Regions from separate parts of the Homo sapiens genome. Here regions 1 and 2 are each linked to region 3. Evidence: promoter capture Hi-C in human tissues and cell types (Jung and others, 2019). All regions are on one chromosome and are shown on one strand. Each heading gives the region's core, a stretch centred on a gene start or on the middle of the fragment in contact. The rest is flanking DNA. Distances are from core to core; before and after follow the strand shown. Region 1 overlaps KCTD2 (potassium channel tetramerization domain containing 2). Region 2 overlaps ATP5PD (ATP synthase peripheral stalk subunit d). Region 3 holds the start of LLGL2 (LLGL scribble cell polarity complex component 2).

The links. The method cuts DNA at HindIII sites, captures the fragments that hold promoters and counts their contacts. A contact is called where the count stands out against the background at its distance.
Region 1: a contact is called between a fragment that was not itself captured here and the fragment with the promoter of LLGL2 in region 3, in 1 of the 25 tissues and cell types used here (pancreas).
Region 2: a fragment that was not itself captured here is called in contact with the fragment with the promoter of LLGL2 in region 3 in 2 of the 25 tissues and cell types used here (IMR-90 fibroblasts and dorsolateral prefrontal cortex).

Annotation. Positions count from the first base shown.
Region 1 is chr17:75,054,712-75,059,010 of GRCh38, reverse strand. All of the region lies in intron 3 of KCTD2 (potassium channel tetramerization domain containing 2), which reads right to left. Among named protein-coding and RNA genes, the nearest start is that of KCTD2, 9.6 kb to the right of the region's middle. The HindIII fragment of the contact is 3,987 bases long and covers 1-3,309 here.
Region 2 is chr17:75,040,305-75,044,859 of GRCh38, reverse strand. ATP5PD (ATP synthase peripheral stalk subunit d) reads left to right here. Exons shown (of 6, transcript NM_006356.3): 2 at 2,201-2,331; 3 at 2,583-2,679. The coding sequence starts at 2,210. It also overlaps a transcript of KCTD2 not described here and the pseudogene RN7SL573P. Among named protein-coding and RNA genes, the nearest start is that of ATP5PD, 4.4 kb to the left of the region's middle. RefSeq lists an enhancer at 3,023-3,593. The HindIII fragment of the contact is 3,720 bases long and covers 1,424-4,555 here.
Region 3 is chr17:75,524,157-75,528,836 of GRCh38, reverse strand. LLGL2 (LLGL scribble cell polarity complex component 2) reads right to left here and starts at 3,140. Exons shown (of 26, transcript NM_001031803.2): 1 at 3,012-3,140. TSEN54 (tRNA splicing endonuclease subunit 54) reads right to left here. Exons shown (of 11, transcript NM_207346.3): 11 at 4,102-4,575. The coding sequence ends at 4,425. RefSeq lists silencers at 3,434-3,618, 2,935-3,654, 3,675-3,774. The HindIII fragment of the contact is 8,139 bases long and covers 1-4,680 here.

The DNA.
Region 1 (4,299 bases), core at 67-2,566, 470 kb after region 3:
TTCTCCTGCCTCAGCCTCCCAAGTAGCTGGGACTACAGGCACCCGCCACCACGCCCGGCTAATTTTTTGTATTTTTTAGTAGAGACGGGGTTTCACTGTGTTAGCCAGGATGGTCTCGATCTCCTGACCTCGTGATCCACCCGCCTCGGCCTCCCAAAGTGCTGGGATTACAGGCATGAGCCACCGCGCCCGGCCTATTTATTATTATTTTTTAAGACACAGTCTCACTCTGTCGCCCAGGCTGGAGTACAGTGGCGCGATCTCAGCTCACTGCAACTCCGCCTCCCCGGTTCAAGCGATTCTCCCGCCTCAGCCTCCCGAATAGCTGGGATTACAGGCGCCTGCCGCTAAGCCTGGCTAATTTTTGTATTTTTAGTAGAGAAGGGGATTCACCATGTTGGCCAGGCTTGGTCTTGAACTCCTGACCTCATGATCCACCTGCCCTGGTCTCCCAAAGTGCTGGGATTACAGGCATGAGCCACCGCACCCAGCCTTATTATTATTTTTGAGATGGAGTCTCGCTCTGTTGCCCAGTCTGGAGTGCAGTGGGGTGATCTTGGCTCACTGCAACCTCCACCTCCCTGGTTCAAGCGATTCTCCTGCCTCAGCCTCCCGAGTAGCTGGGATTACAGGCATGTGCCACTACGCCCAGCTAATTTTTTATTTTTTTTTCCTTTTTTTTTTTTGAGAGAGTCTCGCTCTGTCGCCCAGGCTGGAGTGCAATGGCACCATCTCAGCTCACTGCAATCTCCGCCTCCCGAGTTCAAGCGATTCTCCTGCTTCAGCAGCCTCTTGAATAGCTGGGATTACAGCCGCCCACCACCACGCTTGGCTAAGTTTTGTATTTTTAGTAGAGACGAAGTCTCACCATGTTGGCCAGGCTGGTCTCAAACTCCTGACCTCAGGTGATCCGCCCGCCTTGGGCCCCCAAAGTGCTGGGATTACAGGCATGAGCCACTGTGCCCAGCCAATTTTTTTGGATTTTTAGTGGAGACGGGATTTCGCCATGTTGGCCAGGCTGGTCTTGACCTGAGGCGATCCACCCACCTAGGCCTCCCAAAGTGCTGGGATTACAGGCATGAGCCACTGTGTCCGGCCGACAATGCTGTATTTTTTCTTCTATGTTTTCTTCCAAAAGAGGTATAACGATCGCCGGGTGCAGTGACTCACGCCTATAATCCCAGCACTTTGGGAGACCGAGGTGGGCGGATCATCTGAGGTTGGGAGTTCAAGACCAGCCTGGCCAACATGGTGAAACCCCATCTCTACTAAAAACACAAAAAATTAGCCAGGTGAGGTGGCACGTGCCTGTAATCCCAGCTACTCGGGAGGCTGAGGCGGGAGAACTGCTTGAACCCCGGAGGCAGAAGTTGCAGCGAGCTGAGATCGCGCCATTGCACTCCAGCCTGGGCGACAGAGTAAGACTCTGCCTCGAGGAAAAAAAAAAAAAAAAAAGAGGTATAGCTATCATTAACCAAAGTACTAAGGATTTCAAAGATTTCCTTCCATATTACATATAGTACAAATCCTCTGAAGATTTTAATTGGTTGTAACCACTTATTTTGGAAACCAATTGTATAAGTACAAAATTCAGAGTATCACAAAAGATCTGTGATGTTGGCCACAGCTGTCAAAGTCCCAGGTATTTAAGATGCCATTATACTGCCTCTTTTTTCTCCCTTCCAAAGTAAACCACTTGTGCTCTCAAATGCACCAGGATCAATCACCTACAAAAAATACTATTCTAAGAAATAGGAGTCTGGGTATGGTTGCTCACGCCTGTAATCCCAGCACTTTGGGAGGCTGAGGTTGGTGGCTCGCCTAAGATCAAGAGTTTGAGGCCAGTGTGGCCAACATGGGGATACCCTGTCTCTACTAAAAATACAAAAATTAGCCGGGCGTGGTGGTGCACACCTGTAATCTAGCTACTCGGGAAGCTGAGGCAGGTGAATCGCTGGAACCCAGGAGGCAGAGGTTGCAGTGAGCTGAGATCGCATCACTGCACTCCAGCCTGGTCAACACAGCGAGACTCTGTCTCCAAAAAAAAAAAAAAAAAAAGAAAAAAGAAAAAAAAAGAAACAGAGGAAAGTAGTTAGGTGGCAGCCACTAAGAGCTAAGAGGTCATGAAACCGAAGGTAGGGTTGAGGCCCACATCTTGGGCTTGGCTTGAATCCTGCATGTGTGAGGGGCTACAGGTAAGTTCAAGGAGGTAACATGTTTGAAAATCCACACACAAAAAAATAAAGAAAAATACAAAATGAAACAAAACGAAAATCCACACACAGCCAACTTCATCTTAGAGCCACATACAACAAGTATAAAAGAGGGTGTCTTTGAATAACATCAAATCCATTTTTCAGTTTCACTACATAAAAAGGACAGATGGAAAGATAGTTAACATCAAAAAGGTCTTGACATTCCTAGAACAAAAAAGCTTCCAAAGGGGTATAAATCCACAAGCCTTCAGAATCTAGAAGACTAATTAATTTAATTGCGGTCATCAAACAGAAATCTTATAATGCTCTCCAGGAATTAGCTAATGACGAAGAAGGGAGAATGTTCAGGTACCATGACTTGAATCATTTCAAATTACATAATTCATGGTACTTTAAAATCTATAGTAAGCAATCATTTTTTTAGAATGTGGGAAACTGAGGATAAGGCTAGATTACCAAAATGTCTAAACTATTAAATATCTACAATAGTGAAAGATACCACGTAAAGGTAAGATAGCAAAGAGACTGGTGACACTGGATCACATTCCAAGTGGTAATCTGCAAACCAACTACAAAGCCACCTTTGAACATCAAAAAGGAGCCTTTGAGCTGTCAGCTAGATGGAAGAAAACTAAATGAATAAGCCCTTCTCTTCACTTTTGCAAACTGCTGGAGATAAAGTGGATAAAAGAGTTAATTTTTCATCATTAGTGTCAGTTATTCATCCAAATATTCCAGTTAGAGCCAGAAAACTTTTTTTTTTTGAGATGGAGTCTCACTCTGTTGCCCAGGCTGGGGTGCAGTGGTGCCATCTCAGCTCACTGCAACCTCTGCTATCTTAGTTCAAGCGATTCTCCTGCCTCAGCCTCCCAAGTAGCTGGGATTATAGGCGCCCGCTACCACACTCAGACAATTTTCGTATTTTTAGTAGACAGGGTTTCTTTCTTTCTTTTTTTTTTTTTAGATGGGAGTTTCGCTCCTGTTGCCCAGGCTGGAGTGCAATGGCGTGATCTCGGCTCACCACAACCTCCTCCTCCCGGGTTCAAGCCATTCTCCTGCCTCAGCCTCCCAAGTAGCTGGGATTACAGGCATGTGCCACCACCCCAGCTACTTTTGTATTTTTAGTAGAGACAGGGTTTCTCCATGTTAGTCAGGCTCGTCTTGAACTCCTGACCTCAGGTGATCCACCTGCCTCGGCCTCCCAAAGTGCTGGGATTACAGGCATGAGCCACCACGCCCGGCCAGTAGACAGGGTTTCACCATGTTGGCCAGGCTGGTCTTGAACTCCTGACCTCAAGTGATCTGCCCTCCTCAGCCTCCCAGAGTGCTGGGATTACAGGCGTGAGCCACCATACCTGGCCTAGAGCCAGAAAACTTTGATATATGAAATCTAACATAGAAAGACCAAGGCATTATTTTTTACTTTTAAAAGTAAACTTATGCCAGGCATGGTGCCTCATGCCTGTAATCCCAGCACTTTGGGAGGCTGAGGCAAGTGGATCACTTGAGGCCTGAAGTTCAAGACCAGCCTGGTCAATATGGCGAAACACCATCTCTACTAAAAATACAAAAATTAGCCAGGCATTGTGGCACACACCTGTAATCACAGCTACTCAGGTGGCTGAGACATGAGAATCGCTTGAACCTGGGAGGCAGAGGTTGCAGTAAGCCGAGATCATGCCACTGCACTCCTGCCTGGGTGACAGAGGAAAACTCTGCCTCAAAAAAAGAAGAAAAAAGAATAATTTTCCTGCCTTCTTAATGGCAGGAAAATTCTGTGCTGCAATAGATTATACCTAAAGCATCTACTACCAGTATCTGATGGGAAAAGAGGCAATTATGCTACAACACAGGTAGTCATGGTGGAGCACGACTCTGCCTTCTTACTGTTAACTCTGTAGTTGCAGTTTCTTAAAACAGTCTAATCGCATGAAAGAGAGGGTCTATTTTCCTGGCTATACTTCAAGCTTCTTTTTTTTTTTTTTGAGATGGAGTCTCCCTCTGTCGCCCAGGCTGGAGTGGTGCAGTGGTGCGATCTTGGCTCACTACAAGCTCCGCCTCCTGGGTTCACACCATTCTCCTG
Region 2 (4,555 bases), core at 2,034-4,533, 480 kb after region 3:
CAACTTTCTTGAAGATCCTGAGAAAGACTGCTTCCGCCTCCCTTGCATTCCACTCCAAGCTTATAGAGATTTTTGACTTTGCAGTCTTTTAATATCTGACCCTGATCTTACTTAAAGAGGACTATTTTCCTATATTCTGACTTTTTTTTTAAGTGGCTGTAGTCGTTTTCTGTATTTTTCTCACATTTTCACATGTGTTGAATACCTCTTAAAATGCAGGCCGGGCGCGGTGGCTCATGCCTGTAATTCCAGCACTTTGCAAGGCTGAGGTGGGTGGATCACCTGAGGTCTGGAGTTTCAGCCCATCCTGGCCAACGTGGAGAAACCCTGTCTCTACTAAAAATACAAAAATTAGGGCCGGGCGCGGTGGCTCACGCCTATAATCCCAGCACTTTGGGAGGCCGAGGCGGGTGGATCATGAGGTCAGGAGATCGAGACCATCCTGGCTAACAAGGTGAAACCCCGTCTCTACTAAAAATACAAAAAATTAGCCGGGCGCGGTGGCGGGCGCCTGTAGTCCCAGCTACTCGGGAGGCTGAGGCAGGAGAATGGCGTGAACCCGGGAAGCGGAGTTTGCAGTGAGCCGAGATTGCGCCACTGCAGTCCGCAGTCCGGCCTGGGCGACAGAGCGAGACTCCGTCTCAAAAAAAAAAAAAAAAATACAAAAATTAGCTGGGTGTGGTGGTGGGTGCCTGTAATCCCAGCTACTCCGGAGGCTGAGGCAGGAGAATCGCTTGAGCCTGGGAGGTGGAGGTTGCAGTGAGCCAAGATGATGCCACTGCACTCCAGCCCGGGGGACAGAGTGAAACTCCATCTCAAAAAAAAAAAAAAAAAAAGTGCACAACGTGTGCTGGTGCTGCTAGGGTATAATCCGATGTGAATAAGAAGGTGCAGGTGTATTACCAATCTAGTTGGAAGGGGATAGCCCTTTTAAGTTTGTAAAACTCTGGAGCAAGTTGCTGTGCACAATTTCATGTGACACTTTTAGCAGCCCTCTGGGGCAAGCAGGACTGATAATGCCCATTGTACACATAAGTAAATTTTAGCCTAGAGAGTGCTCTATTTAAGGCTTGTTGAAACTTAGGTGTGTGTCAGTTTCTGTCTACTGGAGAATCAGTGAATAAAACACAATCTGGGTGGAAATGTCTTTATTAACTTTTATGCAATAAGAGTGTTATTTTTAGTAATTTTTCCAGAGGCACATGGAGGGGATAAAGAGAGCTGGGGTTTGTTTTTTTTTTTTTTTTTGAGACAGAGTCTCACTCTGTGTCCAGGCTGGAGTGCAATGGCGCTATCTCAGCTCACTGCAACCTCCGCCGCCCAGGTTCAAGTGATTGTCCTGTCTAAGCCTCTTGAGTACCTGGGACTACAGGTGCATGCCATCACGCCCGGCTAATTTTTGTATTTTTTAGTAGAGGCAGGGTTTCACCCTATTGCTCAGGCTGGTCTTGAACTCCTGACCTCAAGTGATCCACCCACCTCAGCCTCCCAAAGTGCTGGGATTACAGAAATGAGCCACTGCGCCCGGCCAAGAGAGCTGGGCTTTTAAGGCTAAATAGGAGTTGGGAGAGAATGTATTTGTATGCCACATTGCACACTTTGAATTTGAAAAGCTACACTGTCCTTTCCTTTTCTTTTTGAGACGGACTCTTGCTGTGTTGCCCAGGCTAGGGTGCACTGATGCCATCTCAGCTCATTACAACCTCTGCCTCCTGGGTTCAAGTGATTCTTATGCCTCAGCCTCTGGAGTAGCTGGGATTATGGCGCGGGCCACCACGGCTGGCTAATTATTGTATTTTTAATAGAGATGGGGTTTTGCCATGTTGGCCATGCTGGTCTCGAACTCCTGACCTCAGGTGATCCAACCGTCTTGGCCTCCCAAAGTGCTGGGATTACAGGCGTGAGCCCACTGCGCCTGGCCGCACACCTTGAATTACCTTGAATTTGAAAAGCTACACTGTCTTTTTTTCTTTTTTTTTGAGTTGGAGTCTTGCTGTGTCTCCCAGGCTGGAGTGCAGTGATGCAGTCTCGACTCACTGCAACCTCCACCTCCTGGGTTCAAGTGATTCTTGTGAAGACTTGCATGTTTCTAAGATTTAAAGGATTCTCTCTAAGAGCTCTTATTTTGTTATTTATCATTTTTCCCAACTGAAAATTCACCTCATAAAAAAGCCTTGTTTTTATTTGACTTATTTTTCAGGATCCCAAAATGGCTGGGCGAAAACTTGCTCTAAAAACCATTGACTGGGTAGCTTTTGCAGAGATCATACCCCAGAACCAAAAGGCCATTGCTAGTTCCCTGAAATCCTGGAATGAGACCCTCACCTCCAGGTCAGTATGTTTCTGAGAGGGAACCCCATACTTGCCACTGAATCTAGAAACAAAACAGTATTAAGGAATTACATATGAATTCTTGATGCCCTTATGACAACATATAAAGAAATCCTTGCATTTTCATGATGATCTTAGGAGAGGAAAGTGTGGTGACCCTCCAGGCCATAGGAAGAAGGGATAGGAAAATTACCATGTGAATTTTCTACTGCTTATGAACAATCCTAACTTTTGCCTTTCCTTGTGGGCAGGTTGGCTGCTTTACCTGAGAATCCACCAGCTATCGACTGGGCTTACTACAAGGCCAATGTGGCCAAGGCTGGCTTGGTGGATGACTTTGAGAAGAAGGTGAGACTTCACACCTCTAAAGCACTGAGCTTGTAACATGCCTGTGGGTAGGGAGCAGGAACAGGGATAATTACATACACAGCATGACAGCCAGATCCCTAAGGAAGCTTAGGAAGGATGCGTATGGCCAAAGGCCTTGTGGTCGATTGAACTGTAAATAGGTGCAGGAATTTAGGCTCTGTTCATTCAGCAGTAGAGTGTAGCCTTAATCTGGGAGCCAGAGGGCTTTCTGATCAGCACAGGAGTTTTGACCTGCTCTGTTTCTGACCTGGGCCGGTTCACCCCTTCTTAGGCAACCTGGTGGTCCCCCGCTCCTGGGAGGTCACCATATTGATGCTGAACTTGGTGAAGACACCCGATCGGCATAACGCGCTACAGCCCAGAACTCTTGGGCTCAAGCAATCCACGTGCCTCAGCCAGGCATGCGCCACCACGCCCCAGGGGGCTTTCAAGTTAAATGTTTGCCCACCTCCTGGGTTCCTTTTAGCTTCCTTCCTGTCTCCCTTTGGAACAAACTGACTTTTTTTCTACTCTTTTCCTGTCCTTTTTCTTTTGAGACGGAGTTTTGCTCTGTCACCCAGGGTGGAGTGCAGTGGCGCAATCTCAGCTTACTGCAGCCTCTGCCTCCCAAGCTCAAGCCATCCTTCTGTCTTAGCCTCCTGAGTAGCTGGGACTACAGGTGCATGCCACCACCACACCTGATAAATTTTCGTTTTGTTTTTTTTTTTTTTTTGGTAGAGACAGGTTTTTGTCATATTGCTCAGGCTGGTCTCAAACTCTGGGCTCAGGCAATCCACCTCTCTGCTCTTCTTTTTTTTTTTTTTTTGAGTTGGAGTCTCACTCTGTCACTCAGGTTGGAGTGCAGTGGCGCCATCTCAGCTCACTGCAACCTCTTTCTCCCGGGCTCAAGCCTTCCTCCCACCTCATCCCCCCGAGTAACTGGGACCACAGCACCACCATGCCTGGCTAATTTTTTGTATTTTTGGTAGAGACGGGGTTTCGCCATGTTGCCCAGACTGGTCTCGAACTCCTGAGCTCAGGTGATCCACCCTCCTTGGCCTCCCAAAGTGCTGGGAGTACAGGTGTGAGCCACCATGCCCAGCCTCTGCTTTTTTTAACTGTCCCTTATAGCTGTAATTTCTCATCCATCTATCCTCCTCTGATATTTACACAAGTCTCAATATCCAGAGTTCATTTGCTTATTCATTCAAAGATGTGTATGGAGGGCCTACTCTGTGCCAGGTAGTGTTAAGTGCTGGAGCCATAACACTAAGCAGTCTTTTTTTTTTTTTTTTGAGACGGAGTCTTGCTCTGTCGCCCAGGCTGGAGTGCAGTGGGGCCATCTCAGCTCACTGCAATCTCCGCCTCCCAGGTTCAAGCAGTTCTCTTGCCTCAGCCTCCCATGTAGCTGGGACTACAGGTGCTGGCCACCTTGCACAGCTAATTTTTGTATTTTTAGTAGAGACGGGGTTTCACCATGTTGGTCAGGCTGGTCTCGAACTCCCGACCTTAGGTGATCCGCCCGCCTCAGCCTCCCAAAGTGCTGGGATTACAGGCATGAGCCACCGCACCCGGCTAACACTAAGCAGTCTTCTAAGGAGACCATTCATTACGCAGTGCTCCTTCCACCAGTCAGCTCCCTAGGGTTCCATGCAGAAGAGAAATCAGAATTTCTTTACAATTCAAGGTGCTAAGAGGCCATTTTTTGGTCATCAAGTCCAGCTGTCCTTTTCAGATGAAGAAAATGAAGCTTATCATCATAAAGAATTGTCCAGGGTTCCGAGTTAGTGATAGGGCTGAGAAGACCCTTGAGCTCCTGTTCCCAGTCTAATATTCTTTCTACTCCAGTATTGAGATGCGTATTCGTTTCCGCTTG
Region 3 (4,680 bases), core at 1,891-4,390:
CCTTTTTCCCACTATGGGCTCCTATTGCCTTTTCTATTTTTTAAATGAACAGCGATCACCTGGGATTATGGGCCATTTTTTGTTTGTTTGTTTGTTTTGAGATGGAGTTTTGCTCTTGTTGCTCAGGCTGGAGTGCAATGGCGTGATCTTGGCTCACCGCAACCTCCACCTCCCAGGTTCAAGCGATTCTCCTGCTTCAGCCTCCTGAGTAGCTGGGATTACAGGCATGTGCCACCATGGCCAGCTGATTTTATATGTTTAATAGAGACAGGGTATCTCCATGTTGGTGAGGCTGCTCTCAAACTCCTGACCTCAGGCGATCGGCCCAACTTGGCCTCCCAAAGTGCTGAGATTACAGGTGTAAGCCACCACGCCTGGCCTTTTTTTCTTTTAATGTTGCGGTATATTAAAAAGTTATTTAAGGCCGGGCGCGGTGGCTTACGCCTGTAATCCCAGCACTTTGGGAGGCTGAGAGGGGCAGATCACGAGGTCAGGAGATCGAGACCATCTTGGCTAACACAGTGAAACCCCATCTCTACTAAAAATACAAAAAATTAGCCGGGCGTGATGGCAGGCGCCTGTGGTCCCAGCTACTCGGGAGGCCGAGGCAGGAGAATGGCGTGAACCCAGGAGGAGGAGCTTGCAGTGAGCCGAGATCTCGCCACTGCACTCCAGCCTGGGTGACAGAGCGAGACTCTGTCTCAAAATAAATAAATAAATAAATAAAAATAATAAAAAGTTATTTATACTAACGGGTCTGGCGTGGCAGTTCATGCCTGTAATCCTAACACTTTGGGAGGCAGGAGGATCACTTGAGCCCAGGAGTTCAAGACTAGCCTGGGCAACATGGCAAAACCCCCTTTCTAAAAAAAAAATAGAAAATTAGCTGTGCATGGTGCTGCGCGCTTGTAGTCCCAGCTACTCAGAAGGCTGAGGTGGGAGGATCACTTGAGCCTGGGAGGTCGAGTCTGCAGTGAGCCTCCATCTCCCAGTGATTGCACCACTGCACTCCAGCCTGGGTGACAGAGCAAGACTCTGCCTCAAAAAAAGAAAAAAAAAAAGTTACTAACAGCTGGGCACAGTGGCTTACACCTGTAATCCCAACGCTTTGGGAGGCTGAAGTGTGAGGGTCACTTGAGTCCAGGAGTTTGAGACCAGCCTGGGCAACATATGGTGAGATCCCATCTCTACAAATTAAAAAACATATTATTAAAGAAAAAAAGAATTTGGTCAACTTAGTTTAAAAAAAAGAAAAAAAAAGAGAAAAAAGTTACTTTTTTCTATTTTATTTCTTATTTATGAATGTAGTGTCATTTTAATATAATTAAAAGCATATTAATCTGACACCAAAGGGGAAACTCCCTTGCCTCAAGGAAGAATGGGGATGCCAAATGACCCTGGACCCCGGAAACCCTGTCCAGGAGCCCCCACAAAGATGGGCCCAGTCTAACTTCAGAGGAAAGGAGTGAACTCTGATTAGAAGCTTAAGAGCTGAGTTTGAGTTCTGTCTGCCACAGCTAGCACTGTGGGAAGATCGCCTAAGAAAACTAAACCCCAAATCCCAGTTCATAAAATAAAGCTGAGACATCTCTCGCACAGTTCTCCTTGTGCCTCTGCTCACACAGACCCAGACAGTTTTCCTCAAATGCCACTTTTTTTTTTTTTTTTTGAGACAGGGTCTCACTCTGTCCCCAGGCTGGAGTGTGGTGGCGCCATCATGACTCACTGCAACCTCCACCTCCTGGGCTCAGGCAATCCTCCCACCTCAGGCTCCTGAGTAGCTGGGACTACAGGTGCACGCCACCATGCCTGGCTAACTTTTTTTATTATTTGCAGAGACGAGGTCTCACTATGTTGCCCAGGCTGGTCTCAAACTCCTGGGCTCAGGCGATCCTCCTGCCTTGGCTTCCCAAAGTGCTGGGATTACAGCTGTGAGCCAATGCACCCAGCCTCAACTGCCACTTCTGACCTTGGCTTCCCCCGGGCTGGGCCACAGCTCTTCTGTGGCAGCTCTGCTCTTCCTACCAGCGTTTCCTTGTCACCTTGACACACCCATTCCCTCCCTGCCCGCTCCCTGCTCAGAATCCTCTCTGTAGCCCCTTCAAGAGAACTCAAGGTTCTCTTGAACTACAAACTCCAGCAGGGGGTCCCTGGAGCCCAGGTTAAGGCTGCCGGCAGTCGCATACGGATCCCCAGGGGAAGGGGCGCCCTCCTCACTCAAAGCTCACCTGTTCAGGTGAGAGCCTCAAAGCGCCACTCTACAGCTCCCCTGGTTAGGTCAGTTCTCCCCACAGCCAAGGCCCAGCGTGTCCACCAATCGTCCAGCCGGAACAAACTAAGACACACTTTCTTTGGCAAGATAGAATTTTCCACTTCTCGCCAAATCCCACAGCGCAAACCCCGCCCGTCAGCATGGAGGGCAGACTGGGTCTCCGCACTGTCATGTGAAGGTGTCCAAAGCCGCCCCAGCTGGAGAAAGGCCGGAGACCGAAGTCCCTCCCGCGGGCTTCCTGCGTCCGGGGATTAGGAGGCACAAAGGGCCGGCAGGGACACAGCCCAGATGGCAGGGGCAGGGGCTAAGCCGCCGGGGCACCGCGCTCCGGCCGCCGCCCGTGGGGAGGGGGTCACCGCAGACGCGCGTCGCCAACCCCGCTGGCCTGGCGCCTGCACGTGGGCCCGGGGACTCCGTCTCTGCCCGCGGTGCCCCCCGCACCCAGCCGGCCGGGGCACCTGTTCTCCTGCTCTCCTAAGCCAACATTATTGTGCAAACCCAAGCCCAAGTTTCAGTCATCGCGCAGATCAGGCAGAGAAGTTTCCCGCAGAACTTTCTACAGGTGTCTCTCTTCCAGGCCAGCACAGCGACGCGGACAGGGGCGAGGCGCGCGGACCTGGGCGCAGCCCTCCCGCCCTGGCCCGACAGCCCAGGGGTCCTGGGCCTCCCTGGCCTCCCCGCCCCAGGTGGAAGCCCCGAGGGGGCGGGCCCGGCTGGGCGAGTCCGGCACGCATCTCACCTGGAACCCCGGGCCAGCCCCCGCCCGAGGCCTCGGCGTCCCTCGGCGCCCGCCGCCGGCCCCGCTCGCTCCGCCGCGCCTGCCCACGGGCTGCTGGGCGGCCGTCTCCTTCCTGCTCACCTCCGGCGCGGCGAGCCTGGGGCGGAGCCGCGCTATTTACATAAAGGGCGAGCCTGCCGGGGCCCAGCGCCCCGCCCCCGGCCCGCCCCCCAGCTCGGCGCCGCAGGGGCGGGGGCACCCTCGGGGGTGGGGGCTGCGCTCCTGCCAATCCGCGGCCCCGGGAAGCGCGGGGCGGGGCCTCGCGAACGGCCTCGGGGTTCCGCAGGCCCGCCCCGGCCTCACCTGCGCGCACCTGGACGCAGAACGGCGCGCCGCGCCCAGTGTCCCGCCGCCTCCCGCAAGCGGAAATAGTTCCCGGAACGCCTGCGGTCCCGGGCCGCCTCCCAGACTCCAGGGGAGCCGTCCCTCCAACTCCCGGGAGCTGCCGAGGGAGGGGCGGATCCGGGCCAGCTCCTCTGCCAGAGCCCAGCCCAGAGAGGGTGACCGGGGGACGCAGGGCCGGGTTTCCAGCCCCACGAGAGGGATGGTGTAGGGACCGGGGCGTCGCGGCGAGACGCCTTTCCTCGGGGGGGGGTGCGGGGGGGCGCCCACCTCCTCCGTGTCGGCCGGAGGGTCTGCAACAGCGGGTGGAATTTTTAGCACAAGCGAGGGAGGAGGTTGGAGCGACGAGAGGCGGGAGCGGAAAGGGCGCGGAGGCCGGGGCTGCAGCGCGCTCCACCGCCCAGCTGCAGGTGGCGCCTCTCGCCACCCGCACCCCGCTGCGCCCAGGGAAGGGCCGATGGCGCGCCGTCCTCCCTCCTCCCTTCGGGAAGCCTGCGACGTCCCATCCCCTCCGACGCAGGCCCGGGAAAGGCTCAAAAGGTTCGAGGTCGCGTTCCTGCTATCCCGCGGGCTTCTCTCACTCTTAGATCCCGCACCAGAGGAAGCGGATCTCCTTGAGTGGGCAAAGCAGGGGTGAGGGGCTGGGGGCAGTTCCACTGACAACGGGACGGGGGCGAGAGGGGTTTACCCAGTACATACAGAAACAGCAGAAAAGAAATCTATTTTTAATGGCTTTGGCTTTATAGCACGAAGCAGGCACCCTCTCGTTAAAGGCACACAGTCCTCTCTTCTGCCCCACCTCCTGGGTCCTTAAAATCGAGTCCTGAGTTCCAGAGGGGTCACTGCAAGGCAGCAGGGAAGGGAGAGGGTCACAGTTTCACTCTGTGAGTATCAGACACCCAGGGCCAAGGCCCAGACTGGCCTCTGAAGCTACAGGTTAGAGTCTGGGTACAGGAGGCAGCCGAGATGGTCCCTGAGAACAGACAGTCCCGGTCCCCCGGAGCAAGCTCCATCCTCTGCAGAGCTGTGAGGTCAGTGCCCCACATCCTGGGGCAACGTGAAGTCCCTGAAGCTGTAGAAGGAGATGTCACCATGATCCACCAGGGCAAAGATCAGAGGGACATCCCCACTCTGGTAAGACAACCGCTTGAGGCTGCAGAGGTCTGGGACAGGCTCATCAAATCTGCAGGGACAAAGGGTTAGAGTGAGACCCAGCCATAGCCCACTCCTAAGCTCTAGGGCTCCCAGAGAAGAGATTCTACGGAAGGAGTTGGGGTGCAAGAATTCT